Linked DNA regions of Homo sapiens: regions 1, 2, 4, 5, 6 and 7 are each linked to region 3. The links are contacts of gene promoters, found by promoter capture Hi-C in blood cells and fetal thymus (Javierre and others, 2016). All regions are on one chromosome and are shown on one strand. Each heading gives the region's core, a stretch centred on a gene start or on the middle of the fragment in contact. The rest is flanking DNA. Distances are from core to core; before and after follow the strand shown. Region 1 has its middle 18 kb from the start of SLAMF1. Region 2 overlaps CD48 (CD48 molecule). Region 3 holds the start of SLAMF6 (SLAM family member 6). Region 4 has its middle 18 kb from the start of SLAMF7. Region 5 overlaps LOC105371470 (a long non-coding RNA gene). Region 6 overlaps LOC105371466 (a long non-coding RNA gene). Region 7 has its middle 4.7 kb from the start of CD48.

Region 1 (3,745 bases), core at 297-2,796, 140 kb before region 3:
TTTGAACCCGGGAGGTGGAGATTGCAGTGAGCCGAGATTGTACCACTGCACTCCAGCCTGGGTGACAGAGCAAGACTCCACCTCAAGAAAAAAAAAAAAAAAGGGAAAGGGTGGGAAGACTGCATTCTTCAAATATATCCATGTCATAAAGGAGAAGATATAGCTGTGGAAATGTTACAGTTGAAGGGTACTAAAGAGATACAACAACTAAATGCAATACCTAATACTGGACTGGATCCTGACCTGGAGGGAAAATTATGGTTACAAAGGGTCAACCGACAAAATTGAAATGCAAACAGTAGGTTAGACAAGAATATTGTTATCAATGTAAAATTTACTTAAGTGATAACTATATTGTAGTTGTGTCAGAAATTATCCTAATTCTTTACACTGATGTATTTAAGATAAAGAGCCATGCCATATGCAACCTACCCTATAATAGTTCAAATAGAGACAGAAAGAGAGAGAGAGAGAGAACTAGCTAATATTAAAGCAAAATGGGCAAAACATTACAGAGAGGTATTCACAGTCACAGCCAACTTGTAGACCCCTCCCTGCAGGATATTTATAAGCGTGTTCTTTGTACTATTATTAATAATAATTTTTTCTTGCAGCTCTTTTGACATTATTTTCAAATAAAAAGTTAACTACACAGATTAATGAAAGGTCTGCAATACTTATTTCCCCTTGATGGTCCTTCAAGATGCTGAGGGTCTGTTCTGCATTTACCACATCCTCTTCTTTCCTTGTATAGGCCTCTCCTTTTATAGACCTGTGAGTTCTCAGAGTACATTATCATTTTCAACCTTGAATTCCCATTGAAACCCTTGAATTCCCATTGAATCATCTGCCAAAGACGACAGTTTATTTTTCTGTTGATCCAATCAAGAAAAGGAGAAAGCTTCCATGAATAATAAACAGATGGGGACTACAAGTTCCTGTGACTCTGCCGGGCTCTGCCCAATGTGTCTCTCCATTCTGGCTCCCAGGCTACAGGAGCACAGCCTCTGTCAGTCTTGCTATCTCTGGCAGAGGACAGCAACACAGAGCAGAAGGACCTCTTTAAAGCCTAGGTTTAATAATGACAACATTTTCATGCTTAAATCCTTCAAGGATAGGCTCGTTGGAGAGCCTACAGGGTTCTACTGATCCTTATGTGGCTTGGTTTCTGTGATTTTCTCCTGTCCAATTTCTAGTTTGGCCCCTCCTTTGCACTGAATGCTGCAACCTTCCTGAACTGCTAGCAGTTCCCCGAATTTACTCAATGCCTTTGCTCAAGCTTTTACACTTCCTGGAATCCCCTCCCACTCCTCGTTGACCTAACAAACTCCCACTCATTTGTTAAGACTCAAACCAATTGTTGCCTCTCCAAAGTCCAAGAACCACTTCTTAGGAATAGGACTCTCTCCCTGGTCCATAATCACCGTTTCCCACCCTCTTTGTGATAGGAATGATTACTACAAAGAAGACTTAGAAATCGTCAGCAGGGAAGCCCATAAAATTTGCATTTCCTAATTTTCTGTAATCTTGGTGGAGGACAGGAAGGAAGTGGCCAGGCCAAGGCCGTCTGGCAAGTTACCAGCAGGGCTGAGGCTGGAAGTCAAATACACATTCTCCTTTCTTTGTTGATACTACTGGGTACTCCCTGGGGCTTGACCCATTGCCCTTCTTATGTTCGAAAATGTCTTCTGGACTCTGTCAAACCCTAGACAACTCAATTTTGCAGGACCTTCTAGGGGGGCAATGTTGGAGGGCTTGTTGGCTCCTAGAGAGAGCACTGGAATGAGCATGTTTGGTTGGTCTTCAAGCTTATACCTAGTACCCAGAACCACATTTCAAGCTTCTGGGAGGTTGTGTGGTATAGGGGAAGGAGCATGACCTTTGGAGCCAGACAGCCTTGAGTTTGAGTTCCAGAACCGTCATTTACCAGCTTCTGAACCTCAGGAAAAGTAAACTTTCTAAACCTCGGTTTCCGTATGTGGATGATTTTTAAAATCAGGATTAAATGAGATAACCTCAATAAATCATTCCACATAAAGTCTGCCATACAGTAAGTGCTCAATAAGTATTAGTTGCCTTCCTCTGTCCCAAACTTCTCCTTCCTCTCTTCTGGGCTGGCAACTCTAATTTTAATGAATTAAGACAAGATCTCTTAGCTTAAGTTTCCCCAAGTGTAAAATAAGAGGGAAATGGTTGTATAACTCATATGACCCAGATCACGGCTTCTTTCTATTTTGCTTTTATCAATCTTCTCAATCAGGTCTGTGTACTGAGCACAAAGGCTGCCCATGGGTGTGACATGAACAACGGAGGTTTTGCTCTCAGAGGAAGTGGAGAGGGGTTGGGAGGTACCTGGGGAAATGCAAATTTCATGGCTAAGTAGGACTTCCCTAGGTCTGCTGACTTCCAAGATGCTTCTGAGGCATAATTCCAGTGATGATGTGAAGGTGTGGGGCCAGTTCTACCCCCACCAAAAAAGGCCACAATCAGTATATTCATTCCACAAACATTTTTAGCACTTGCTGTATGCCAGGCATTGTTAGATTGGGGAACCATGAAGGTAAATAGAGCATAATGAAACTCAATCAGGATATGGGTGGATTGACCTAAACCCAAGAGATTTGGTTTCTGGTTACGGCTTTTCAAAAACTAGCCATATGGTAAGTCCCTTAGAAGTTTTAGTCTCTAAGTATTAGCTTTCTTGGGGTGAAATGAAGGAGTTGAAAATATGACTTCTATATTTGTTTGCTTTCCTTCAGATTATACTTCTCCTCTCAAAGTCAGCTCTGTGTTTTCAAATAGCCCCTGGAAATCTCCATATGCATGAACCGTAAACATTTAAACTGACCATATCCCAAGCCAACAAATAATCTTATACCCCTTGCTCTCAATTTTGCCCCTAAGTTATCTCCACCTCTTATACTTCCTTTCTTAGAGAATGGCATTGCCATCTACTGGGAAACTGAACTGGAAGTGTAAAGGCCATAGTATATAGGCCACTCTCCTTCACAGCCCACATTCAATAAGTCACCAAACCCTGAAAAATCCACCTATGAGATAACTCTCCAATGGATCTCCTTCTCTCCCACCTCATTGCTACTTCTCCAGTTAAGACCCATCATTTCTTCAAATCTGTTCCTAGCCTGTAGGTCTACCTAAATTTCTCTCACACTAAGGCCAAAGTAATCTTTTCTTTTCTTTCTTTTTTTTTTTTTTTTTTTTTTTTTGACAGATTTTCACTCTTGTTGCCCCAGGCTGGAGTGCAATGGTGCAATCTTGGCTTACTGCAACCTCCGCCTCCCAGGTTCAAGTGATTCTCCCATCTCAGGCTCCCAAGTAGTGGGATTACAAGCACATGCTACCAGGCCTGGCTAATTTTTGTATTTTTAGTAGAGATGGGGCTTCATCATATTGGTCAGGCTGGTCTCAAACTCCTGACCTCAGGTGATCTGCCCACCTCAGCCTCCCAAAGTGCTGGGATTACAGGTGTGTAATCCCACCACGCCCAGGCAAGGTAATCTTTCTAAAGCAAAAATATGAACAGGTCACTCAGCTGCTTAAGACTTTTGGTGGCTTCCATCAAAGAATGAATGGCTTTCCAAGAATGTGTTTAATTATTTGTGCGCAAAAAGGAGTTTTGATCAGGTGAAAGGGGAGACACTGCCTCCTGTGGAAAGTCCTGGGTTGTGTATCCTTGCAGGAATGAAAGAAAAACAGATCAAAACAATGAGGAAGAGAAGAGAAT
Region 2 (4,327 bases), core at 1,828-4,327, 160 kb before region 3:
CTGTTATTTGGCTTGGAGATCAGGTAGTGAGTCTCAAACATCACATGCAAATGCAGTGCGATTGGAATACTTCAGATTTCTGCATCACCCCGTATTCCTATAATGAGACTGATCATTCATAGGAAATGGTCAAAGGACACCTTCTAGGTAGAGAAGATAATTTATCATTGGACATAACTAAATTAAAGAAACAAATTTTTGAAGCCTCTCAAGCTCACTTATCCATCATGCCTGGAGCTGAGGCATTAGATCAGGTGGCAGAAAATCTTTATGGATTAAACCCCACTACTTGGATTAAGTCTACTGGGGGCTCCACTGTAGTAAATTTTGGAATATGTTTCTGTGTTTAATCAGCTTGTTTTTAGTGTCCCAGACCACTCAAAGAATCCTGTGTCAAAATCAAGAGAATGAACAAGCCTTCATTGCCATGGCACATTTATATAAAAAGAAAGGGAGAGATGTTGCAGGAAGTCAGGGACCCCAAATGGAGGGACCGGCTGAAGCCATGGCAGAAGAACGTGGATTGTGAATATTTTATGGACATTTATTAGTTCCCCAAATTAATACTTTCATAATTTCTTATGCCTGTCTTTACTGCAATCTCTAAACATAAATTGTAAAGATTTCATGGACACTTATCACTTCCCCAGTCAATACCCTTGTGATTTCCTATGCCTGTCTTTACTTTAATCTCTTAATCCTGTCAGCCAAGGAGGATGTATGTCACCTCAGGACCATGTGATAATTGCATTAACTGCACAAATTATAGAACACGTGTGTTTAAACAATATGAAATCTGGGCACCTTGAAAAAAGAACAAGATAACAGCAATGTTTAGGAAACTAGAGAGATAACCTTAAACTCTGACCACCGGTGAGCCAGGCAGAACAGAGCCATATTTCTCTTCTTTCAAAAGCAAATGGGAGAAATATCGCTGAGTTCTTTTTCTCAGCATGGAACATCCCTGAGAAAGAGAATACGCGCCTGGAGGTATAGGCTTATAAACAGCACCCCCAGGTGCTCCTGTCTCTTATGGTCGAAACTGCAGAGGTGAAATAGACTCCAGTCTCCCATAGCACTCCCAGGCTTATTAGGAAGAGAAAACTCCTGCCTAATAAATTTTGGTCAGACTGGTTGATCTCAAAACCCTGTCTCCTGATAAGATGTTATCAATGACAATGGTGCCCGAAACTTCATTAGCAATTTTAATTTCACCTCGGTCCTGTGGTCCTGTGATCTCGCCCTGCCTCCTCTTGCCTTATGGTATTCTAATACCCCGTTAAGTACTTGATGTCTGTCACCCACACCTATTTGCACACTCCCTCCCCTTTTGAAAATCTCTAATAAAAACTTGCTGGTTTTTGTAGCTTGTGGGGCATCACGGAACCTACCGACATGTGATGTCTCCCCCAGATGCTCAGCTTTAAAATTTCTCTCTTTTGTACTCTGTCCCTTTATTTCTCAAGCTGGCCAATGCTTAGGAAAAATAGAAAAGAACCTATGTGAATATCAGGGCAGATTCCCCGATAGCTGCTTAGTTCATTGATGTATCCCAAGTGTCTCAAATAGTGCCTGACAGATAGTTCTTAACAAATATTAGCTTTTAATCACCCTTTGGCTTACCCTAGTGGTCATCTCCTCCAAAGAGATTTTTCTTAGTATTTTCTCCATTTTCTATCCCTACCCTCCGGATAGGAATATATTCCCATAGCACACTGTGTTTATTGTCAGGAGTCAGGAAATGATGCCCTAAAATGATGGCCTCAGAAGCAGCCTCAGAAGTGAAAGTTTTTCTCTGACCTTCTCCTGCCCTCCTGTCTATCAGTCCCATTCTCCCCTAGGCTAGCCATAGACACTGGAATCCCTCTTTCCCAAGGTGGGCCATAGAAGCCAAAACCCCTTTTCCCCAAAGCCAGCCATAAAATTTAAATATACCACCCTAACTTTCCTTGAGCCTTTCTCTGTAAAAAAAAAATAGCTATAAAGAAATTATCTGACCTATCTTGTTTGATTGTGAATCATAAGACCCCCATTCTAGAGAGGGCCTGACCCACACACGGGAGGAAGGAAAGAATCTGGCACAGAAAGGCCAAGCAGAATCTAGAAAGATAGGCCTTGCTGGGTTTCCCGCAGTCAGTCTATTGGCATTCAATCATACCCTTTTTGTCCAATCATATTTCTCCATGACTGTCCATACTTTGTTGAACCTAAGCATAAAAATGGACAATTTGCCCTGTATCTTTGGCTCTTCATTAGGAAGGCTCTGCTTACACGTTAAATTGATCTGTATGCCTTTCCTCCTTAATCTGCCTCTTGTCAGTGATTTTTGGCAAACCTTCAGAAGGTGAAGGGGAAGCTTTCCCTTGGTCCCCACGTTACCTTTATTATAGTCATCAAGATAATATATTAGGATTATTTGTTTGTGTGTTTGTCCTCCCACATTGGTATATTAAATATTTTTAAACAGAATCATGTACTTTTTATGTCTATGCCTCTAGGGACTAACAACATGCTTACTGAAATGAGAATAGACAGGAAACACAAGACCAGAGCAGAGATATGACTTGTCATCAGTTTATTTGAAAGTCTACTGGTATGAGAGTAAGGGAGAGAGCCAGGCCCAACCTCAGTTGGCCTTACTCAATTCTTTCATTTTCTGGGGACAGTACTAGATTAATTATAAGCAGCATCCCCTTCCCCCATGCCCACTTTTCAAGCTTCAACTTTTCTTGAGTTCCTAAGCAGGAGACCTGGACCTCCAGTGAAAACCATACTCACTGCTCCTAAGCAGAAATCCCTTCCTTCTCACCTGTTCCACCAGCCCAGGCTATACCCTGGGCCTGTCAGCAACACTGCCTCCTCTAGCGCAGGTCTCACTCTGAATCTCATTGGCAGGTCACTTGGTACATATGACCGTGGTCTCCGGCAGCAACGTGACTCTGAACATCTCTGAGAGCCTGCCTGAGAACTACAAACAACTAACCTGGTTTTATACTTTCGACCAGAAGATTGTAGAATGGGATTCCAGAAAATCTAAGTACTTTGAATCCAAATTTAAAGGCAGGGTCAGACTTGATCCTCAGAGTGGCGCACTGTACATCTCTAAGGTCCAGAAAGAGGACAACAGCACCTACATCATGAGGGTGTTGAAAAAGACTGGGAATGAGCAAGAATGGAAGATCAAGCTGCAAGTGCTTGGTGAGTCAGGGGAGCCAAAGAGCAAATCCCCACTCCAGTGGCCCCAGATGGACCACTGTAGGGCTTCCTGGGAGGCATGGGGCACTCTCGGGGAGGAGGAGAGAAAAACCTCAGGACAGGTTTGATTCATTTTTCCTTGATCCAATTCTATTTGGGAGTGAGCCTAGGTCAACAGATATCCAAATTAACAATCTTAGGACATTTAACACCTCTTCTGAAGTTAGTGAGTCTAAGCTTTGAAGAGAAGGAAAACTAGAGATTTTTCCTATTTCCTTCATTTTGTCCTGTGATCAACCTAAATCAGCTCAGCTCATCTTGATTATATCTCCGAAATTAGGCTTCATTGGACTTAAGAAAAAAGAGAATGTATTAATATAAAGAATGGGGCAGGAGTTATCAGGAGAATTTTTCAACTTTCATAATGGGCAGGACAAAAAAACTTCCACTCATAGCTCCAGTCTAACCAGTGTATATGGAATAAGGACTCAGGCATTATACCTGGAGCCAGACAGACTTGGGTTCAAAACTGGTCAGTTGCTCACTAGCTGTGCAGCCTTGAAAAAAGATCTTCACATCTCTGTGCCCATATTAGGTAAGATTCTTTTGATAGCAAATAACAGAAACTAATTCAATGTACCTTTACCAAAAAAGGAGAATTTAGTTTAAGAAACTAGGGCTATTTAAAGCAATTCAAAGAGTTTAAAAGAGCTAGGAAGGGCTTAAGGGGAGAAGATTGAAAACCAGGTTCGGGCCAGAACCCCTAGCTTCAGGAATCTGTGGACTGTGCCTATGGATTTGGATTCCTGCCATTTTACACATGTTATCTCTCAAAACTTAGACTTTTGCTCCTCTGAGTTTCAATTCTCAGGGCAATTTAAAGAGAGAGAAACTGATAGTCCCAATTTAGTTCAGGTGTGTGTACCTGATCTAAACATTTTTGGTGAAAGGATCAGATTATAGGGCAGAAACATGGATATGGGGAGGGGCTCCAGGGGTTGGGGTATGCAATTCTTGTAGAAGAGCGGGGCTAAATAATCCAAGAGTGGTGTTCCCTTGAGAGCCTTGGGTTCTTCATCATATTATGAGAATAATTCTACTTACCTTTCAGGATGTTATTAGAGTCAAAGTA
Region 3 (3,805 bases), core at 446-2,945:
ACAAACCTAACAAAAACAAGCAATGGGGAAAGGATTCCCTATTTAATAAATGGTGTTGGGAAAACTGGCTAGCAATTATGCAGAAAACTGAAACTGGTTCCCTTCCTTATACCTTACACAAAAATTAACTCAAGATGGATTAAAGACTTAAATGTTAGACCTAAAACCACAAAAACCCCAGAAGAAAACCTAGGCAATACCATTCAGGACAAAGGCATGGGCAAAGACTTCAATACTAAAACATCAAAATCAATGGCAACAAAAGCCAAAATTGACAAATGGGACCTAATTAAACTAAAGAGCTTCTGCACAGCAAAAGAAACTATCATCAGAGTGAACAGGGAACCTACAGAATGGGAGAAAATTTTTGCAGTCTATCCATTTGACAAAAGGCTAATATCCAGAATCTACAAAGAACTCAAACAAATTTACAAGAAAAAAAAAAAAACCCCAACAAAAAGTGGGCAAAGGATATGAAGACACTTCTCAAAAGAAGACATTTATGCGGCCAAGAAACATATGAAAAAAGCTCATCATCACTGGTCATTAGAGAAATGCAAATCAAAACTACAATGAGATACCATCTCATGCCAGTTAGAATGGCAATCATTAAAAAATCAGGAAACAACAGATGCTGGAGAGGATGTAGAGAAATGGGAATGTTTTCACACTGTTGGTGGGAGTGTAAACTAGTTCAACCATTGTGGAATACAGTGTGGCGATTCCTCAAGGATCTAGAACTAGAAATACCATTTGACCCAGCAATCCCATTACTGGTTATATACCCAAAGGATTATAAATCATGCTGCTATAAAGACACATGCACACTTATGTTTATTGCAGCACTGTTCACAATAGCAAAGACTTGGAACCAACCCAAATGCCCATCAATGATACACTGGATAAAGAAAATGTGGCATATATATACCATGGAATACCATGCAGCCATAAAAAAGGATGAGTTCATGTCCTTTGCAGGGACATGGATGAAGCTGGAAACCATCATTCTCAGCAAACTAACACAAGAACAGAAAGCCAAACAACGCATGTTCTCACTCATAGGTGGGAACTGAACAATGAGAACACATGGACACAGGTAGGGGAACATCATACACTGGGGTATGTCACGGGGTGGGGGGCAAGGGGAGGGATAGCATTAGGAGAAATATCTAATGTAGATGACAAGTTAATAGGTGCAGCACACCAACATGGCATATGTATACATATGTAACAAACCTGCACATTGTGCACATGTACCCTAGAACTTAAAGTATAATTTTAAAAAATCAGTTTTCTTTTGGCTTTTTCTTAGCTTTATACTTAAATATTTTTTTCTAATGTAATTAGAGTGGAATTGTTTTTTGAATTTTATTTTTGGATTACTCATAGCTAGTATATACAATTGCAATTGAATTTTATATTTTGATTTTGTATCTTTTCACCTTGCTGAACTCATTTATTTGTTCTAGTAGATTTTAGGAAATTCCTTACAGACTTTTACATATAAGTTTATGAAAGATGCAATAAAGGACTTTATCTTCTTTTCCAAAAAAAAAAAAAATTTGTGCACTTAGCTCAGAAAAAAGTAAACAAAAAATTAACACAGTTACAAATTAGGATTTTTAGTGCAGGGGAAGAAGTTGTCACCACGCCTCTAAGAGGAAGGGGAAGTCTCAGAAGTATTTTCAGTTTATGACAGAAGGGCAAAAACATTGACTGCCTCAAGGTCTCAAGCACCAGTCTTCACCGCGGAAAGCATGTTGTGGCTGTTCCAATCGCTCCTGTTTGTCTTCTGCTTTGGCCCAGGTAAATGTCAATCCAGATCGGTGTAGTCACTGAGTGACTCCCTGGTTTTGTGCAGCTTGCTCAACCTAAATCGTCTGTATACAGTTGTCTGGCTCTCTGCCAAGGGATTGGGGCGGGAAAGGGGACGCTGGCAGTGTTACCTGATATACTACTACCTCCTCTCAACTTTGGATGCGATAAGCCTGAGATGGTTGTCGGTGAACAATTTCAATTGTGTCTGCATGTAAGAAAGTTATTTGCTGGGGCAGAGGAAATAAGCTTTTGAAGACAAGACTGTTTGTGGTTTATGACCAGCATCTTGTGTTATAAAGAGTACCAAGACCAAGAAAATGGGCCCTCATACCAATGTATCTACTATCGTACTGTGAACCTCAGGGAGGTTACTTATCCTTCCTGAACCTCACTATCCTCATCTAAATTATTAAAAACCTATTATTCAGTTGAGCCAAATTTTCTGGGCCCAACCAAACACACCAAAAATAACCCTCTCACCTTTTGCTCATTGCAAAAAAAAAGGTTTCCATCTCTCCCCTCCTTTAGTGCAAATTAGGGCTAGCTAGTCCAGCAATGCATTATATATGGCAGTGAGAAAAGAATGAACTGATCCAGCTGGCTTCTTGTTTCCTGCTGTCCATTATATGGAGAAGATGAAGATTCATATCACATTTGGGGAACTACAAGTGGTCCACGGGAGACAAAGTGTAGCATTCAGGCAGAGATAGTCCAGGAGACCAATGGAAATCTAGTCCAGAGCTAGCCCAGGGTAGCAGATAAAAGTAGGAAGCATTCACTGAGCACTTATTGTATTTCAAGTATTGTGCCAGGTGCTGTACACACGTTATGAGTCTCATGAGAATTCTATGAATTTATACTATTAATATCTCCATTTTAAAATGAAGAACTGAGGTGAACTTAATTTAAATAATTTGCCCAAATTTCATTAGCCAGCATGCGACAAGCTCTTGTAATAGTTATGAGAAAAAATAACAGTTCAACAAGTGTGGCAGCAGCATAAGAGAAAGAAGAGACTGAAGCAAGAGATCCCATCAATATGGAGTTAAGTAGAGTAATTGGTAATTGGAATGAGAAAGGAATAAATATTCATTGAGCACCTACTGAATGCTTGGCACTCTTCTAGTTTGCATGAATACATCATGAACAAAGCAAGCAAAAATTCCTGCCCTCATGGAGTTAACATTTTAGCAGGAGACAAACTGTAAAAAAAGATAAACAAGTAAAATAGTGTATTGGGTAGGAAGAAATAAATCAAGAAGGAAAGGGAGAGATGAAATATGGTAAAGACGGCAGTGAAATTTCAGACAGGATAGCCAAAGAAAGTGACAAAATTGGAAGGTGGAGAGCAGCCACAGGAGGAAGGTGAGTTCAATTTTGGACCTACTGATTTTAGGATGTCAGTGTGCTATACATGAGGAAGTTACGTGGAGGATCCTGGGAACTTAGGACTAGGGGTAGAGCTGAGGCTAGAGACTTAAAAATCAATGGCATAGAGATATGTTAAGCTGAGGAGAAAACTGGAATGAGAACAGAACTTTGGGAAATATATATAAAATGCAGAAAGAGAGAGAATTCTTTCCTTCATTCAAGAGCCACTTCCTGATCTAGGAGCAGAATCTTGAGTTTTTGCTTCATTTTTACCACCCTGCAAAATTATTTCCACCTCTAGAATAAAATATTCTGAATGTCCTTGTGTTAAAACTCCTCTTCTTCTCCCTATTTCCATGAATACTTCTTATAATGACCCTATGAAATATACAGTGCTCCAATCTCCACTTCACAGATGGGGAAAGAAGGCACAGAACACTAAAGTAACTTGCTCACTGCCCCACATTTATGGGGGAAATGGGTATAGAAAGAGAAACACATTTGAATGAGTTTACAGGAGGCAGATGCAGGTGTTCTGAGACCCAGGAGGAGAGAAGTGGCTGCTAGAATTGGAAATCAGGAAGCTTGGCTCCGGAGTCTGTGCTCATAGCCACTT
Region 4 (4,126 bases), core at 734-3,233, 230 kb before region 3:
GGCAGAGGAAGGCCAGATGCAGTGGTGCACACTTGTAATCCCAGCCACTTGGGAGGCTGAGGCAGGAGGATCACCTGAGCTCAGGAGTTTGAGGCCAGCCTGGGCAACATACAACTCCATGTCAAACAAAACAAAACAAAAAGGTAAAACAAACAAACAAACAAACAAAAAAAACCCCCAAAAAAACAAAAACAGAGAAAGAGCAAATTTGGTCTCTCTGCTTGAGCTGAGACATGCATTTTTCTTCTGCCCTTGGGCACTGGTAGTCTCATTTCTCTGGCTTTCTGGGTCATATTGAGAGTTACACCTTTGGCTCCCCAATTCTCAGGCCTTCCAAGTCATGAACTGAATTACTCCTCAGGCTTTCTTGGTTCTCCAGCCGCAGACAGAAGATCATGAGACCTCTTGGCCTTCCTAATGCGTGAGCCAATTCCTATAATAAGTCTCCTTTTATATATATTTACAAATAATCTATTGGTTCTATTTCTCAGGAAAACCATGAGTAATACAACCCCCTATATGTCTTATATGCCTTTATTTTCTTACCTACCATTTTAACTTGTAATGTCTGTTGATATCCCTGTCTCCCACTTGATTGTGAGCTCTTAGAAGTATGGGGAGCACATTGTAGACGCATAATAAGTTTTAATTGCAGGAAAAAATAACTTTTATAATTAGTAAAGACAAGCAGTACCAGCATTTATTTTAAAATAATAAATTTTAAATAAATTAATCAATTAATTAATACTGCCTAGAGCAGTAATACATATGAGCCGAACAAAACAAAACAAAACAAAACAAAACAAAACAACCCACAAAACCCAATTAGACAAAAGACAATCTTGGTCTCAACTACCTCATCTATAAAATGGTTATGTTTGTTATGAAGATTAAATAAATGTACATATGTATATACATGCACACATATATATATGTATTATTTAGAACAATGATTGGCAATTGTGACTGTACTAAACATTAAATATTATAAATGATCATGTTATGGTTTATCAACTCTTCCCTGTTGCTGGCTATGTTCTTGACAGATTGCAATAAAGAGTATGCTTAGGACTATAGTCAGAACTCCAAACATCTTTAAAGTCTGTCTACAAGTACATGAACTGAGGAGGCTGGAAGTTCCTCCTTCCATCTTCTTGGGATGAAATGAGAGGGAGGTGGGCCGGGCTGCATCCTGGGCTGCAGTCTGTGATAGGCTGTCCCCACCAGGAGGGTCTTGCTCATGGGTCTCCTCATGGAGGAGGATGATCCCCATGGGCCTGGATCCTCCTCATGGGCCTGGATATCTCTGAACATATGATGAACATTGCTTATGAAAAATTATTTGTAGGAAAATTGTGAGGCCTAAGAATGTTATTTTCTTTTAGTGATGGTCTTTGTTTGCTTCTGTAAGGTACTTGTGGGCACTCGTAAGCTTGGATCTCTTTAATCTAATACCAGTTTTGAGATTTTCTTGGCCCCATAGATGAATTAAAACTGGTGTACTTCTTGTTTACAAGAAGGATAAGTCTCCTAGGGTAAGTCTTTTGGGGTCCCAAGTCAAAAAGATGAGGGATTTACCAGTTCTCTAACCTTGGTAGCCCCAGACTCCAAACTTTGTCCTTCTAGTCCCAAGAGGCTATCAAAAGCAAAGGCCCATCTTCCCACCTCCTTTTCCAGATCAGCACACATTCCCAAGACAGTACTGAAAGCAGGAACCTCCTTATCCCTTAGATACCTCTTGAGAGCATCCTTCCCTCTCTCTGCATCCTACTATGCTTGTCCAACCTACCATCACCTCTCTCCTGGATAACGGTAAGAGCCTTCTGACTCAGTTTGCCTACATCCAGTCTTGACCCCCTACAATCTGTTTCCCATACTGCAACTAATGAAATTTTAAAAGTGCAACTCTCTCTGCTGGCCACACTGACTTTCGTTCTTTTAGGTCCTCTCACCACAAGGCCTTTGCACCTCTGGCTAGAAGGGTTTTATTTTCCCTTCCCACTTCTTGTAAGTAGCTCCTACTCATCTTCCGATCTCAGCTCAGTCTTCATCACTTTGGAGATACTGTCTCTGACCACAGGAAAATTTGCCATTCTTGGCTCCACACACCTCTCTTTCATAGCAGTCATCACTGCAACCATGTTATTTAAAGGATATTTGAGTGTTGGCCTCTGTCATTAGAATGTAAGCACCCTGAGGGCAGAGACCTCTGTTGTGGCCCACTGCTGTATTCCCTGAGTTCAGCATAATGTCCAGCACTTACTGGTGCTCAATAAGTACTGCTGAATGAATAAATGAATGAATGCATACATGATCAAATGAATGAGTGAAAGCCTTACTGAAATGGTACAGATACCTTCTTTACTTTCCACCAAGGTTTCAATGTTTACGAATTTGTTATTTGCACCTCACAAGTTGCAAACCACACAGTTCTGGAGGCTGCATGTAATGGGGCTATGAGGTGGTGTGACTTCTCACCCTGAAGAGCTGGTGGTTTCCTTTGCCTACTGGTTGAACTCATGAGGGGAAGCTTCTTTCTGCAACTAGCTTTGGGACAGAATTTATTGAGTGTCCAGAGACCAGATCTATTGGTCTCCCTAGGTCCTGTTTCAGTCACTGGTTTAAAAAACCCCAAAGTATGATTAACCCTAATTATTTATCATCTGAATGGGTTCTGAGGAGAGAGGGGAAGGCAGAACAGATGCATCCTCAGTCCCAGCATCCCCCTCTCCACGCCTCTGTCTTCACACACTGTGAAGCTCCCCTCAGCCTCCAGCAGCCCTCTCTGAGGGAAAGTCATCTTCTCCTCTGTCATTATGTGGAGGGTTTCTCCTTTCTCCCCACCCATTCTCACTCGAGGAGGTCTTTCCATCCTCCCCCACACCCTTACCATGAGGGTCTCAGACTTTCCCCTCAACCCCACGTAGTGAGTAGTGCCTCGTTTTTCTCACTGAGCACCTATTTAAAATTTCCTCTACTCTATTATGCAATACATACTTTCTCATTGAGGAATATTCAGAAAATGAATGAAAATAGGAAAAAACCAAGCCACCTAAGCTTTCACCCTCCCTAAACAACTGGTGTTACTATTTTGATGTTTTTTCTTCCAAATTTTTCCCTGTAGAGATTTTTTCTAAAACACAGCTGTAATCATATAGCACATTAAATTTGCATTCTACTTTTTATATTTGTGATGTCATAACATTTTCTAACTTGAAAACCCATAGTTGTTGTGTTGTTGTTGTTTTGTGAGTCAGAGTCTCACTCTGTTGCCCAGGCTGGAGTGCAGTAGCACAATTATAGCTCACTGCAGCCTCAACCTACCAGGCTCAAGCGACCCTCCCTCTTCAGCTCCTTCCTGAGTAGCTGGGACTACAGGCATGCACCACCATGCCTGGCTAATTTTTGTATTTTTTTGTAGAGATGGGGCTTTGCTAAGTTGCCTAGGGTGGTCTTGAACTCCTGAGGTCAAGTGATCCTCCTACTTCAGCCTCCCAAAGTGCTGGGATTACCGACATGAGCCACCACTCCTGGCCAACCCATAGTTTTTTTTAAACAATTTTTTTTTTTTTTTGAGACAGAATCTCACTCTATCATCCAGGCTGGAGTGCAGTGGTGCGATCTCGGCTCACTGCAACCTCCACCTCCCGGGTTCAAGAGATCCTCCTGCCTCAGCCTCCCAAGTAGCTGGGACCACAGGCACATGCTAAAAATTTGTTATTTTTAATTTTATTTTTGATTCAGAAGCTACATGTGTAGGTTACACAGGTATATTTCATGATGCTGAGTATAACCCATAATTCTTTTTTTGAGATGGAGTCTTGCTCTGTCGCCTAGGCTGGAGTGCAGTGGCGCGATCTTGGCTCACTGCAACCTCCCCGTCCTGGGTTCAAGCAATTCTCCTCCCTCTGCCTCCCAAGAAGCTGGGATTACAGGGGCTCACCACCATGCCCGGCTAATATTTTTTGTATTTTTAGTAGAGACGGGGTTTCATCATGTTGGCCAGGCTGTTCTTGAACTCCTGACCTCAAGTAATCCACCTGCCTCGGCCTCCCAAAGTGCTGGGATTACAGGCGTGAGCCACTGCTCCCGGCCTAACCCATAATTCTTAATGTCTATGTATGAA
Region 5 (4,372 bases), core at 1,773-4,272, 250 kb before region 3:
AGTTCTGGAACAGATGTGGGCAGATCCTGCCTCTGCTGTTCCTTCTGTGTATTCAAGGTGATGCAAGGTTTGGGCACTAATGCCGTGCATTTTCTGTCCTGTGAAGTGGAGGCCCAGAGCAGTTTCCCAGTCCTCAGTTTATTCCCTTTCGCACACACAGAGCAGCTGGCCTGGCCTCATGTCACACTGAGCTCCAGGATTAGTGAGGATGGATGCTGCATTGTCACTCTCATATGCCATTGACATGTGTGGCAGAGAGCAGAGGAGGCAGTGTGACTTACAGCTGGACACCCCTGGGACCCCAGACTGTTGTTGTGTCCTGTGGAGGGTCTGTCCTCAGTGTCTCCTTGAGGCTTGGGGACAGTGCTCTAACTTTTACCTGCATGGTCAAGAACCCATTCAGTAACAGCAGCTCCCACCCTATCTCAGTGCCTCACTTCTGCATATGTACCAGGCTCCTCAGTCTGCCCAGGGGCCTGAGCAGCTCTGGGGTTGACAGGGAGGGTGGAAGAAGAAGTCCTGGTTCCCTTCAGACCCTGGGGCAAGGGGGCTAACACCATTGGGAGGGTGGGAGTCTGGGGTGGGTGGGTGTTGGTCTGTGTGGTCATGGCAGTGGGAGGAGAAGACCCACTGGAGCTGGTGGGGAGGCTGGAGGGACTCACACAGGAGGAGCTGGATGGAGCCTGTGGCTTTCCTGACTAGGTGGGGAGACACTGACACTGAGGTTGTGGGTTCTCTTCTTTGTCTACAGGGTCAGGAACACTGGGAGAAGATACAGTGGGGAAGATATCCTTGGGGAGTTGGCCACTTGGCCCCTGGAGGTCCCAGCAGAGCAAGAGGTAGAAAGTGTTACATGGAGCTCTTGAGAGCGTGTTGCTGTTTTACAACAAGGATGAACAGACAAACCAGTTCTGGTTTCTGAGACTCAGGGACCCTACAGTGGATGACTGAACATTCCCCACCACAGCTACTCTCTTCAGATCAGCCCCCTGAGGCTGCAGGACTATAAGCCTATAAGCCTGGGTAACTCTGCATACTTCCTCAATCATTATCACCAGGGATTTCACCCTGCTTGTCTATGGTAAGGAGGGCTGGAGGGCCCCACATTTGAAACTGAGCTTTCCTCTACCCTGTTTGGCCAGACCAGAGCCTTCTCATAGCTCAAGCTTTCCCTTCTTGGTTCAGAGATGCTGTAGGAGTTGAACATCTTTGCCAGCTCCCAGATCATGAAGGATGGGACCTGCTTCATCACCCTGGCCTGCTCCCTGGAACAGGCTGGAGAGAATGTGCAGAACAGCTGGGAGCCTCCTAGTCATGGGGCAGTTGTGTCCCATGGGGGGACCACTCTCAGTGTCCCCTGGATATCTGGGGAAAGTGAGAGCTATCACTGCACTGCCAGGAATCCCACCAGCCAGAGCTCCAGCTCTGTCCTTACCAGACCCCTTTGCTCAGGTAATGTTTTTCCTTCTCTGACTCTCTTCTTCCTGGCAAGCCTTGGTCTAGTTTCTTAGCATCCCTGCCTCTCTTCCTCTTGGATCCAGGAGCAATTGAAGAAAGGGAGGAGCCAGATTAGTTGGCAGCAGGAAGTGTCTCTGGGGTGGCAGGAGACAAGGGCTCTGGAGCCACCATCCCAGGGCCCGCTTCGGTCCACCTTTTCTCTGTTGGCCTCGGTCCTCTGTGCCTGACCTGCTGCAGACTCAGCGAGGCATTCAGCTCATTCCTGGGACTCCCTGAGGAAAAGTGCTGCCTCACCCACACTCAACCCTGCACAGCCCACTGAGGAGAGCTTCGAAACCCCTTGCCTGTGTTCTCAGAGAGGACTTACCACCTCCCCTTGCCTAGAGGTGCTCTGAGAGACACTTGAGGCTGTGCTCTTCTGGCAGGCAAGGGGAGGCCTCTCATGGTGTCCCTGGTCCCATTTGGCTTAGTCATAGGTCATGGCTGGAAACTGTGTTAGTTCAAACATATCCTGTCTCTCCTCTTCTCAGTTGCCTTCTGAAACAGCTGTCTTTCCTGACTCCAGATCTTCAATCATTCATTCTCCACCCACTTGCTGCTGATTTGCCCCTCCAGCTACATCCTGATGGATAAATTCATTGGCCACTTTTAAATTCTGTTATCCTTGGCTTCTCCCAGCACTTGACACATTAACCTGCTCTCCTTTGTCACCTGGGCTGCTCTCTCCTGGGACATCTTCCCTTGGATCAGGATCCTTCTCAAGACTGGTGCCTCAGGCCTTTCTCCACTCCCCTTGTTTTCTTTCTGTTGCCAAAGGCAGAAATGCCAGTGTCATTTAGGGCCCCTCCTCTTCCCCACCACATCCTGCCATTGCTCACCCTTTCCCTTTATTCCTTGCCTGGACCACTCCACAAACTCCTAACCACTCCTTCCTTCCTTAATCTTTTCCTTCCCAATCATCTTCCAGATTGCACTGCCAGAGGTCTAATTCTAAATTAAGAAATGCTTGTGTTACTTTTTAGCTTAAAACTTTAGGACATGAGAGGGAATGTGGAAGTGTTGATTAAACGGTAATAGTTTCAGACAGACAGGAGGAATAGGTTTTGAGATCTATTGCACAGAAGGCGACCATGGTCAATAATAATGTATTATACAGTTCAAAATAGCTGAGGGAGTACATTTCAAATGTCTCACCGTAAAAAATGGTAGGTGAGTGAAGATATGTTAATTAATTTGATTTAATCATGCCACATTGTATACATGATCAAAAATCACATTGTTCACCGTAAATGCATGCTGCTGTGATTTGTCAATCAAAAATAGTAAATATTTTAAAAACTAAAAAAAAGCCCTATGATGTCTGCCCACTATCTAAGGTATTTAAACAATTATTCATTCATTTAAGCCACAGGTATTTACTGAGTATCTTTTATGAACCCTGTGCTGTTCTAACCATTGTAGATACAATGAAGAAGAGGTCCAGATAAATTTCTACCCCTCATGTAAATCACTGTTACAATCATCACAACCTGCACCTGACTAGCTTTTTGGCCATTTCATCTTCCAGTCAGCCCTGGGAAATGACTTTGGGAGAGTTCTGTATTTTGTTGTACAAAGACAACATTGAATGTGTTCTATTATGGGCTTTTTGTGTCTGTGCTCTCCACTGAACTGTGAGAAAAACACATTCTTACTGTTCTCTGCATCTCTAATACACAACGAGTAATAGGTGTCAAAAAATGTGGGTCTGACAAGTATTTAAAAAGCATCTGCGCTGGGTGTTGTGGGACACATGCAGACATGATAATTGGCTGTAGACGTTCACAGTCTCCCTCTCTCTACGGGGCCTGATGGACATTTCAGTTCCGCCCCCACATTCGGCTACCTGAAGGGGCCTCCAGCCCAGCCATGCCTCTGACTTGTCTTCCTTCAAAATCATTTTCCCTGTTTCTCTGTCTTCCTGTCTTCCTTTTCTCCCAATTACTAACTTGTGGTCATTGTTCATTCAGCCTCCTTTGTACCCCACTCCCTGAGGAAAGAATTTCTTCCTTTTTTGATTCTGGGAGTTTTGGGGATTGAATAGATTTCACCTGGACATGGGGAGAAACCAAGAAGAGAAGTACGAGATGGCGGCCATCCTGTGAGACACAGAGTTAAAGAAGTTCGCATGTGGAGTGCTGCCTGAGGCCAGCATTTCCTGGTGTGAGAGAAGGACATTGACACTGATTAAGGCATAAACCCTATTTCATTTACAAACTGAGTTCAAAATTATCAGGAAACTGCTATGTGTCTTCTGTTTAAAATAATCTGTTTATGTTTTATTGAAGTGTGTTTTTAAGTGTTCAGAAAGAAAAAGGAGCTTATTTATTTAAGAAAAATTGAATGGAACATAAAAACATTGTTATTGTCACACATATATATTATTAAGTTTTTGTTAATGTTTAAATAACTAGATTCAGCCCAGCTTCAGCTTGAATGTCATCTCCTTGGAGCAGCCTTTGGCCACTATACTTAAGTAGATCTTTCCTCTCATTCATAATCAATGTATGTTTAAAAAAATAATCTGGAGTCTGTTAGGCTGAGACGGCCCTAGCAATCTGGGATTCTACACAAGCAAACAGAAAACCAACTCAGAATGACTTAACCAGTCGGAAACCACCAGGTAATCTCTAAATGGGGAATTCCATTTAAGCCATCAAATATTTTCTTTTCTTCTTTTTATTTTGCATAGAGACAGGATCTAACTCTGTTGCTCAGGCTGGTCTCAAACTCCTGGCCTCAAGTGATCTTCTCACCTTGGCCTCCCAAAGTGCGGAGATTACAGGCATAGACCACCATGCCTGGCACACTTATTTGTTGGTTTACTTATTTATTGTTTATTTCCCTCACAAGATATTCAGCTCTATGAGGATAA
Region 6 (4,349 bases), core at 1,695-4,194, 150 kb after region 3:
GGGGCTTTCATTCAGTTTGTCCTTATTACACCACCTTACTGCCACCATCTCCACCACAATTCTCCACAACGTTCCTCTTCCTACGTGTGCTACTTTGGAAAGTAGCACCACTGTACACCCAGGCTCCCAGGCCAGAAACCTGGGAGTTCTCCTCTAGCCTGCCACATTTAATGAATCACGACATCCTGTTGAATCTACCATTTAAATAGCTTCCTAAATCTGTCCTCCCTTCCCCATTCCTACTGCCGCTACCTAAATACAGACCCTCAGCTTCTTGCAGCTGACTTTGCGATAGCCTCCTAAAACTGTTCCCTGCACAGAGCTTACCTTTACGCAGCTATGATCAGAAATGTCCTAAAAGTGGCCAGGCGTGGTGGCTCTCACCTCTAATCCCAGCACTTTGGGAGGCCGAGGCAGGCAGATCATTTGAGGTCAGGAGATCGAGACCAGCCTGGCCCAACAGGGTGAAACCCCGTCTCTACTAAAGTACAAAAAATTAGTCGGGCGTGGTGGTGCCCGCCTGTGCTCCCAGCTACTTGAGAGGCTGAGGCAGGGGAATTGCTTGAACCCAGGAGACGGTGATTGCAGTGAGCCAAGATCACCCCACTGTACTTCAGCCTGGCGACAGAGCAAGACTCCATCTCAAAAAATAAATAAATAAAAAATTAGCCGGGTGTGTTGGTGCACACCTATAATCCCAGCTACTTAGGAGGCTGAGGCAGGAGAATGACTTGAACCCAGAGGCAGAGGTTACAGTGAACCGAGATTGCACCACTGCACTCCAGCCTGGGTGACAGAGCAAGACTCTCTCTTAAAAAAAAAAAAAAGAAAGAAAGAAAGAAAGAAAGAAAGAAATGTTCTGAAAGTGATATTTCTAAAGTGTACATCTGATGATAGTGTTTATCTACCCCACTAGAGAATGTTCATTGGTTTCCCATCACTGTGTGGCCAAGCACACACTCCCTATTATGCTTCTCCTGACCTGGCCCCTGCTTACCTCTCCAGACCATTCCGTCACTTTCCTGTCCCACCAGCCCCTTGCACTTAATGTCCCAACAATACCACACTGCTAATAGTGTGCTCTTGCTCACCAGAGCTTCTCAGGGTTCCATGCCTTCATACCTACAGTGCCTTTCCTTTGTAGGTGGGGTTCCCTGGGAAGTGGATTCCTGAACTCTGAGATCGTATACAGGAGAGTGCCAGCAGGAGAGTTCTTGAGAACACCTGTGAGGTGTGAGGGAAGCTGCAATAAGCCGAGAGAGAAACTGAAAAGCAATGCAATGGCAACAGAGGCTTCTGTCCATCCCATGGGGGCTCTCAAGCTGGGATAACTTTGTAACCCCACATCAACCAGTCATTGCCCTAGGGAAAGAGCAACACCTCAGGCAAGGCGGCTTTCTTCCTCCAAAGGCAATTCCTGGAGAGGGACTCAGCTGTGAGTCAACACTTCCACAGCTGGAGAAGTGAGTGGAGCACACCACAGAATTCACTGTACGTATCTCATGGTCTTCAAAACCCAGCTCAGAGTTTACCGGCTGCCTTCCTCACCAACACCCTCTCTCAGGTAATCACTCGCTTCCTTGCAGATGCCTCTCACTGTTGGGAAACTGATATGTTTACATGCCTGTCTCCCATACTCCCTCCCAAGTAGGTGGTGGGGAGGGCCTGATCCTGTATTTCAGAATCCAGAACAGTGCCCGGTATACATTGGCTATTCCATAAAGGCATGCTGCACTGAATAAATTGAAATCAACCAATGAAAGAGGTAGCTACAAGCTTATAAAAGAAGGAGGCTGGAGTTTAATGCTAGAAAGGATAAAAGGGACATAGACAGTAGAGATTCTCACTTGGGAACCACACTGGAGACCCTGCTTGGGAGGCCCAAGAGTCCCAGGTTAGAGCGAATCAAGGCTCTGAGCTTGGGATGTCCAAAGAGGGGCAGGAGCCAGAACAAAACCTGTAACCTATAAATAGCCATAGGTTATAGCTCATGGAGCTGGGAGACAAAGGTAAAACTTCAAGGGGAGAACGGGCTTCTAGGAAAGAGGAAATTCGACAGCTCCCTCTCCTTGCTCCATACCTGCCAGCTGTCACTCAGACTCCTATATTAAAAAGAGCACACACACAAAAAAGTACACAGATATACACGTGTTCAAAAACCACAGAATCAGGTAAGCACGCCCAGATACAGAACACACACATAACACAGACACACAATACATGAAACAGACACAGACCAGAAAAAAATCAATCTGAAAATTATAGGCCATAATATATGTAAATGAACCACCTATGAATTCTAAACTCTGTTTACCCCTAGTCAGCCTTCAAGCCTCCTTCACCTTCCAGAAATCTCTGACAAGTAGAGAATTCCAGATTGCAGAATTGCAATTCCTTCGTCCTTTGTCCCCAGTCAGGTCATTTCTTCTCTTTTTCAGGCTCTCAGCAGCTCCTAGCTAGGGATAGGGAAGAGGGAAAATGTTTCTGCTAGTAGCCAGCAGGGGACAGTGTTCAACAAGCAATAATCAAATCAGCCTTCAACTTGCTGAAGGGAGGGAATGGAGGACGAGGGAACCAGAAAAGGGTCCTCAGACCAACACATTGCTCTGATCACACCCTCGATCCATGTCTCCCTCTTTTTTTTCTGCTTCTTCAGCCCCCTTCTTCTCCTCAGCTGCAGTTTCTCCATCCTTAGTTTAGTAGATCTCATGGATTGTCTATTTGCTCAGAGAAGACTAAGCTCAGGAATTTCCCCCTCAGGGAGAGACATTCCCCTTAGCCTCTTGTCCCTTTCCATTCTGTCTTGGTTCCCAAGGTGGTCAGGACTTCGGAGTTTTCATCTGGACTCCTGACCAATGCTCAGGAACCCACATGAGGGGCTCAGTTCCAGGGCCACCTCTCAGGGGATGCTTGCATCCTGGTGCACAGCTGGTCTAGTAGAAGTGGGGTTGGGTGTCAGGCCCCTGCACTGCCCTTAGCCTGGTGCTTTGTAAAGTGCACAAACTGTATGACAGTACAGTTGACCCTGCTACTTACTGCCCCTGAGATAGCATCTGATGAGCGTTTCCGGTGTTGAACACTTTCACGATGATCTCATTTAATCCTCATCACACCCCGGTGGGTCTTGTTGTCTTTCCTGCTTTCCATATGAAAAAGCTGTTGCTCAGGGAGGGCATGCGGTTTGCTCACTGTGGCACAAAGGGGAAAGGTGGAGACAGAGCAGGGACACGGGACCTCTGGCTGCCGGGTGTGGGCTTTCTCCCCTCTAGCACAGTGTTGCTGCACTGCCACCACTGCCTCCCTTCTTCCACTCCCTCTCAGCCTTTCAGGCTCATCTCTGCTTGCTCCCTTCTCCTCCCTGCGCTGACATCCCAGCACTGTGAGCCTCTTTCTTCTGCCCATAATCCTCATCCAATGAGAGGTCAAAAGCTCAGGAAAGAACACAAGAAGAAAGCAGAAAGATAAAGGAACTGGGTGGTAGAAAGGGCTTTCCAGAAAGAGGAAGAAGCAAAGGCAAAGAAGACAGGGCCTGCACTGGGGGTGGAGAGGGAAGGGAGGTGGGTGGAATGAGGAAGCGGAGCACCCTCCACACTGTGCCCAGACTTGGGAAAGGGCACAGACAGGGCCTCCATTGTGTGGGCACAAAGAGGCCATATGCCTGGCAGCCTATGACAGTGTGTGTGTGTGCGCGTGTGTGTGTGTGTGTGTGTGAGAGAGAGAGAGAGAGAGAGAGAGAGAGAGATTTTAGGCAACCCCCACCCAGCCCCTGGGGCCTTGACTTCTGCTCTGTCACTGGTGATGGGTTTGCTGAGTTACAGGACAGGGCGTTGATGAAGACAGGACTGGAGGGTCAGGCACCTGTGGTCACTAGGACTGGAAGAGGGCATGGACAGCTGGGGGAGCTATGGCCATGCATGGGATACTTGGCAAGGGGAGTAAGGAAGCAGGGGTGAAGTGCAAGAGTCCCATTCTGGGGTCCTCCTAACTGCCCCTCCCCCACCCCACCACCCACGAGTTGGGTTTAGAGGGATGTGGAATGAGGGATGCAGAGCAGATCCTCTTCTAACAATCCCTTTTCCCCATCCTCCCTATCTGCTAGCCCCAAAGCTTTCACTTTCCCCTCAGCCCAGGGACTTCCATCTCCCTGCCCTCTCCCTCCTCCCCCAGTGCCTGGTCCCCTGCTCCCTCCTCTTCCCACTCTCCACCTCCTTCTCCTGTCCTTCCCAGAGTGAGAAGAGCAACAAGAGCGACAGCGGCAGCGAGGCCAATTGATTATCTGAAGAAATTCGGAGCTAGCAGTAGAACAGCTGCAGCTTCCCCCTCTCACCACCTCCAGGCCCTCAGGGATC
Region 7 (4,034 bases), core at 1,377-3,876, 190 kb before region 3:
TTCTCCTGCCTCAGCCTCCCAGAAGCCTGTTTTTCAGCTAGTCAGCAAGTAGCTGGACTTCCCTTTGTTTGAATAGGAACTTGAAAGCTTTGATGAATGTTGTGAAGGGTGTGGAAGTGATTAGAGAAATGGAGGCTACCGAGGAAGAGGGAGGAAGTGAGGGAGATACTCACGGAAAGGCTTCATGTTCCCACAAAAACAGCAGCCTTTGGATTTGAGAGGACAACCTTTATTTGCCCTCTTAACATAAAGTAGTAACCTCTGGAGGACTTGAGGCTTGGAGTAAAAACTCACAAATGGCAAAGGAAGAATTTTCCCTCCTCCCAAAGGGGTGCTAACTCAAAAAAATCACATAGGCAGGGTTCTTAAAGGACCACAGAATGAGGTCCTACGCAGGTGGACAAACTGCTTCAGAAGGCACCAGAAAATTTGGCCCTGGGACATAATGGGGATAAAAAGCATATGATAAGTCATAAGGAATTGGCAGAGCTGAGGTTCCCATTAGTATCTGTCCTGGCAATGTGCTAGCAGACAGGGAAAGGGTTGGAGGTCATCTGAGCTGGTAGGGTAAGAACAAATGTAAATCTCAAGGGATATCCAGAAGGGAGCCCATGTCTTTGCTGCTACACAAACACAGCAAGAGCCATGGGCCACAGCAAGAGCCACGGGCACAAGAGCAACTGGGAGTGTGTGCCTAAGAAGTTACATGGCATGAAAAATGAAAACAGAGAAAAGGCAAATTGCCCCCGAGGTGGACGGTTCAGTGGGTGCGCAAGGCCATTTCAGAATACATCCAGAGAAAGCAGGAGAATAGGCATCGCAGGTTTTGGGGAAAGAGCCAATTTTAGTTGAAAAAGCAGAGGAAACCCCAGAAATTGCACAGTCTCAGGCTTTAGCCCTATCACTCTTGCAAGCCTCCTGTCCAGGACGGCAGAGAGGAATTGTTTTAGGGGTTGGTTAGTAAGCAGGAGAGCAAAAGGGAGAAGAAAACCACATATGTGGGTTGAATGACTCCAGCCAAAGAAGGCGAGGTGTAGAGATCTCTAACAACCAGAGAACAAATCTGAGTCATGGAACCAAAGTACGTTAGTGTCCCTTCTCCCTGATTCTTTCCTTGGGGTGGGCTGTCTGCATGCGCAGTGGCCTGCTAGTACTTGGGAGGGGCCACACATTCAGTGTGTTCACTGGAGTTGTATGCATGCTCACCTGAGGCGTTCTTCTTCTCTTCTTTCTTTTTTCTTTGAGACAGAGTCTCTCTCTGTTGCCCAGGCTGGAGTGCAGTGGCATGATCTTGGCTCACTGCAACCTCTGCCTCCTGGGTTCAAGTGATTCTGATGCTTCAGCCTCTTGAATAGCTGGGATTACAAGTGCTCACCATCACGTCTGGCTAGTTTTTGTATTTTTAGCAGAGACGGGGTTTCACCATGTTGGTCAGGCTAGTCTGAAACTCCTGTTCTTAAGCAATCCATCTGCCTTGGCCTCCCGAAGTGTTGGGATTGTAGGCATGAGCCACCATGCCCTGGTGCTGGCTGCGACCAATTATTATTTTAGAGAGGCACATTAACAATTGTCTGACCATCACCTGATGGTCGCCTGTCATTGCTGGTGGTGTGGGAGGCTCTCTCCTGCCCTGCTCACGTCTGCCTGACTACCTACTGTAACATTAGCCACCTGTTCTCATCAATTCTATCTTCTGGGAGATCGACCCTGTTCCTATCTTTGCTCTCATTGTTTCTGGGGAAAATTTATTGGAATGACTTCACTTTCTCTCACTCTCCAGGCACTAGCAAAGCTGTGCCTGTTGTGGCATTCAAGGCCCTGCTTAACCTACCAGGGGTCTGTCTTCCATCCTCAGCTCAATACCATACCCCTCCTTGAACATTTTTGGGCTACTCAAGGCCCTATATTCTCTGAGTTCCTAATTTCACATTGGCATGACTCTCATAGTGTTTCCTATGTGTTCTCCATTTCTTGTAGGCATATTGCAGATCCCCTGATGCCCAGAACCTTGATAACCCCAGAGTCTGTGTGCATAGTAGTTAGGCATGCCAGCTGGAGCATCAGACAGACGTAGATTTGAATTTTGATTCTGGTTCTAATTAGCAAAATGCCCTTGGGCAAGCCATTTGACTTGTCTGAACCTCAGTTATCTCTTCCGTAAAATAAGAATAGTGTTTATAAATATCCTCATGTGAATGTTGGAGGATTATTATTTTGTTGTTTTGTTGTTGTTTTTGTTTTTGAAACCTGATCCTTCTGTAAAATGTTGGAGGATTAAATGAGATAATATAGGCAAAGGTCCTGGCAAGTACTTGACTTAGTAGATACACAGAAAATAATAGCTTCTGTCATTACTATCACTTTGTCAAAGTCAAGCAGTAGGTCAAGTGCCCACCAGATTAGATACTGAGAAGAGTGTGTATTTTAATTCACATCATGAGGATTGTTGACCTGTACTTCATCTTCTAGGGTCTTTGCAGCCCCACCTCTGGGTATGCCCAAACTTCAGGGATTTCTGCAACCAGGGCTTTGGTGCAAGAACAGCTGATTCACTTAGGGCAGGGAGAGGGCTTTTGAGCCTTTATTGGTCACTTCTCTCAGACTTGTTTTTGAATCTATGCAGAAGCCTAACTAGCTAGTCCTGAACCTCAGAATGGGCACCCATAGTACTTCAGTGCCCGCTGTTACCATGCAAAAGGAGGAAGATTCCTTGGCTTAAGTTTATATTTCATCCTTTGTTTTAACATCAGCCTATATCCCATGGCTATTAATTCACATCTAAGCAGACTGTTGAGAATTATAGAGCTGTTTACTTGTCAATCTAAAAGAAAGAGGCTGAAACACAAAATATGATTTGAAGACTTTACTTGAGCCAAAGGGAGGACAGCTGCCTGGAAGACTCAGACCCAAGTAAAATTGGTTTTGAGCTCTGCTCAGCCTTTGTTACAAGCAGGTTTTTAAAGGCAAAAAAAGTGATACAAAGTTTTTTTTTTGGAATTCTCATTGGTTTGCAGAAATAACATTAATTAGTGATTGGTTACATATTGTTAAGCTGTAAGGTGTGGGTTATATGTCCAGTGCAGCATTATTAGATTAATTTATGGTTACTTGCAGCAATAGCAAGTAGTTTTAAGAGGTGAATACATAGCCCAAAGGTGGAGTAGGGGGAAGTAAAATGTGATTTCTGTCTCATTTAAATGTCTCTCTGATAATTTGAAGGACTCACATTCTTCAGATAAAAGTTCTTTCCTTTCTTCAACTTTTCACAACAACATTCAAAGGAGGTATTTTAACATTTATTTTTATTTTTACTTTTAGTAGAGATGGGGTTTTGCCATGTTGCCCAGGCTGCTCTCAAACTCCTGAGCTCAGGCAATCTGCCCTCCTCGGCCTCCCAAAGTGATAGCGACAGGAGACAGACAAATTCCTGGACAGATAGAAAAGGGTCCCTGGTGAAACTAGACTTTCAAGACAAAGACAGTTTAAAGCCTGAAAACTGGGCTGCCAGTTCTGGGTAGAGTCCACAACCAGAGTGAGAACTTCCTTGATACCTTTTAGCTAATCGAATGGTGCTTTTTCCAGGCCTGCCTATGGACAAATCTGAGCCGATGAAAACCCCAGACTCAGCCTCACAGAGGGCTACCTGTTTTGGGGCCCCTCTCACACAGTGGTCTACCCACTGTCTGGTCCCCTCTTTGCTGAGAGCTTTCCTTCTGTCACTCAATAAAATTATTCTCTGACCTACTCACTCTCCTTTGTCTGCATGCTTTATTCCTCTTGGTTGCAGGACAAGAACCCAGGACCTGCTGAGCTGCAGGTGGCAGGAACAAGCTGTAACATACCCGTATTTGCTGAGCTGTGGGCACTGGGACCAAGTGAGAGCTGTGACACACCCCCATTCACTGAACTGCAGGCAGCAAGACTAAATAAGAGCTGTGACATGCCCCCATTTGCTGAGCTGCAGGCAGTGGGACTGAACAAGAGCTGTGAGGTGCCCTCATTTGCTGAGCTGCAGGTGGCAGGAACAAGCTGTA

What was found. The method cuts DNA at HindIII sites, captures the fragments that hold promoters and counts their contacts. A CHiCAGO score of 5 or more calls a contact.
Region 1: a fragment that was not itself captured here is called in contact with the fragment with the promoter of SLAMF6 in region 3 in 5 of 17 cell types (non-activated CD4 T cells, activated CD4 T cells, fetal thymus and 2 more); the score reaches 7.7 in non-activated CD4 T cells.
Region 2: a contact is called between a fragment that was not itself captured here and the fragment with the promoter of SLAMF6 in region 3, in 3 of 17 cell types (non-activated CD4 T cells, activated CD4 T cells and total CD8 T cells). The highest score is 6.7, in non-activated CD4 T cells.
Region 4: a contact is called between a fragment that was not itself captured here and the fragment with the promoter of SLAMF6 in region 3, in 1 of 17 cell types (naive CD8 T cells). The highest score is 5.7, in naive CD8 T cells.
Region 5: a fragment that was not itself captured here is called in contact with the fragment with the promoter of SLAMF6 in region 3 in 1 of 17 cell types (non-activated CD4 T cells); the score reaches 6.2 in non-activated CD4 T cells.
Region 6: a contact is called between a fragment that was not itself captured here and the fragment with the promoter of SLAMF6 in region 3, in 2 of 17 cell types (total CD8 T cells and naive B cells). The highest score is 6.0, in total CD8 T cells.
Region 7: a fragment that was not itself captured here is called in contact with the fragment with the promoter of SLAMF6 in region 3 in 1 of 17 cell types (activated CD4 T cells); the score reaches 5.1 in activated CD4 T cells.

Annotation. Positions count from the first base shown.
Region 1 is chr1:160,663,501-160,667,245 of GRCh38, reverse strand. No RefSeq gene overlaps it. Among named protein-coding and RNA genes, the nearest start is that of SLAMF1, 18 kb to the right of the region's middle. RefSeq lists enhancers at 1,191-1,752, 1,766-1,825. The HindIII fragment of the contact is 529 bases long and covers 1,282-1,810 here.
Region 2 is chr1:160,683,758-160,688,084 of GRCh38, reverse strand. It overlaps CD48 (CD48 molecule), which reads left to right. Exons shown (of 4, transcript NM_001778.4): 2 at 2,896-3,198. It overlaps LOC124904439 (endogenous retrovirus group K member 18 Env polyprotein), which reads right to left. Exons shown (of 1, transcript XM_047438433.1): 1 at 1-4,327. Among named protein-coding and RNA genes, the nearest start is that of CD48, 26 kb to the left of the region's middle. The HindIII fragment of the contact is 715 bases long and covers 2,720-3,434 here.
Region 3 is chr1:160,521,145-160,524,949 of GRCh38, reverse strand. SLAMF6 (SLAM family member 6) reads left to right here and starts at 1,695. Exons shown (of 8, transcript NM_001184714.2): 1 at 1,695-1,806. The coding sequence starts at 1,758. RefSeq lists an enhancer at 1,861-1,910. The HindIII fragment of the contact is 3,138 bases long and covers 1-2,066 here.
Region 4 is chr1:160,754,899-160,759,024 of GRCh38, reverse strand. No RefSeq gene overlaps it. Among named protein-coding and RNA genes, the nearest start is that of SLAMF7, 18 kb to the right of the region's middle. RefSeq lists a silencer at 1,864-1,933 and an enhancer at 3,484-3,533. The HindIII fragment of the contact is 1,098 bases long and covers 1,435-2,532 here.
Region 5 is chr1:160,773,028-160,777,399 of GRCh38, reverse strand. It overlaps LOC105371470 (a long non-coding RNA gene), which reads left to right. Exons shown (of 3, transcript NR_188636.1): 2 at 752-1,081; 3 at 1,186-4,372. Among named protein-coding and RNA genes, the nearest start is that of LY9, 21 kb to the left of the region's middle. The HindIII fragment of the contact is 3,707 bases long and covers 1,169-4,372 here.
Region 6 is chr1:160,374,856-160,379,204 of GRCh38, reverse strand. LOC105371466 (a long non-coding RNA gene) reads left to right here. Exons shown (of 4, transcript XR_007066686.1): 4 at 1,145-1,790. Among named protein-coding and RNA genes, the nearest start is that of NHLH1, 10 kb to the right of the region's middle. RefSeq lists an enhancer at 2,994-3,043. The HindIII fragment of the contact is 2,331 bases long and covers 1,779-4,109 here.
Region 7 is chr1:160,714,466-160,718,499 of GRCh38, reverse strand. No RefSeq gene overlaps it. Among named protein-coding and RNA genes, the nearest start is that of CD48, 4.7 kb to the right of the region's middle. The HindIII fragment of the contact is 5,074 bases long and covers 90-4,034 here.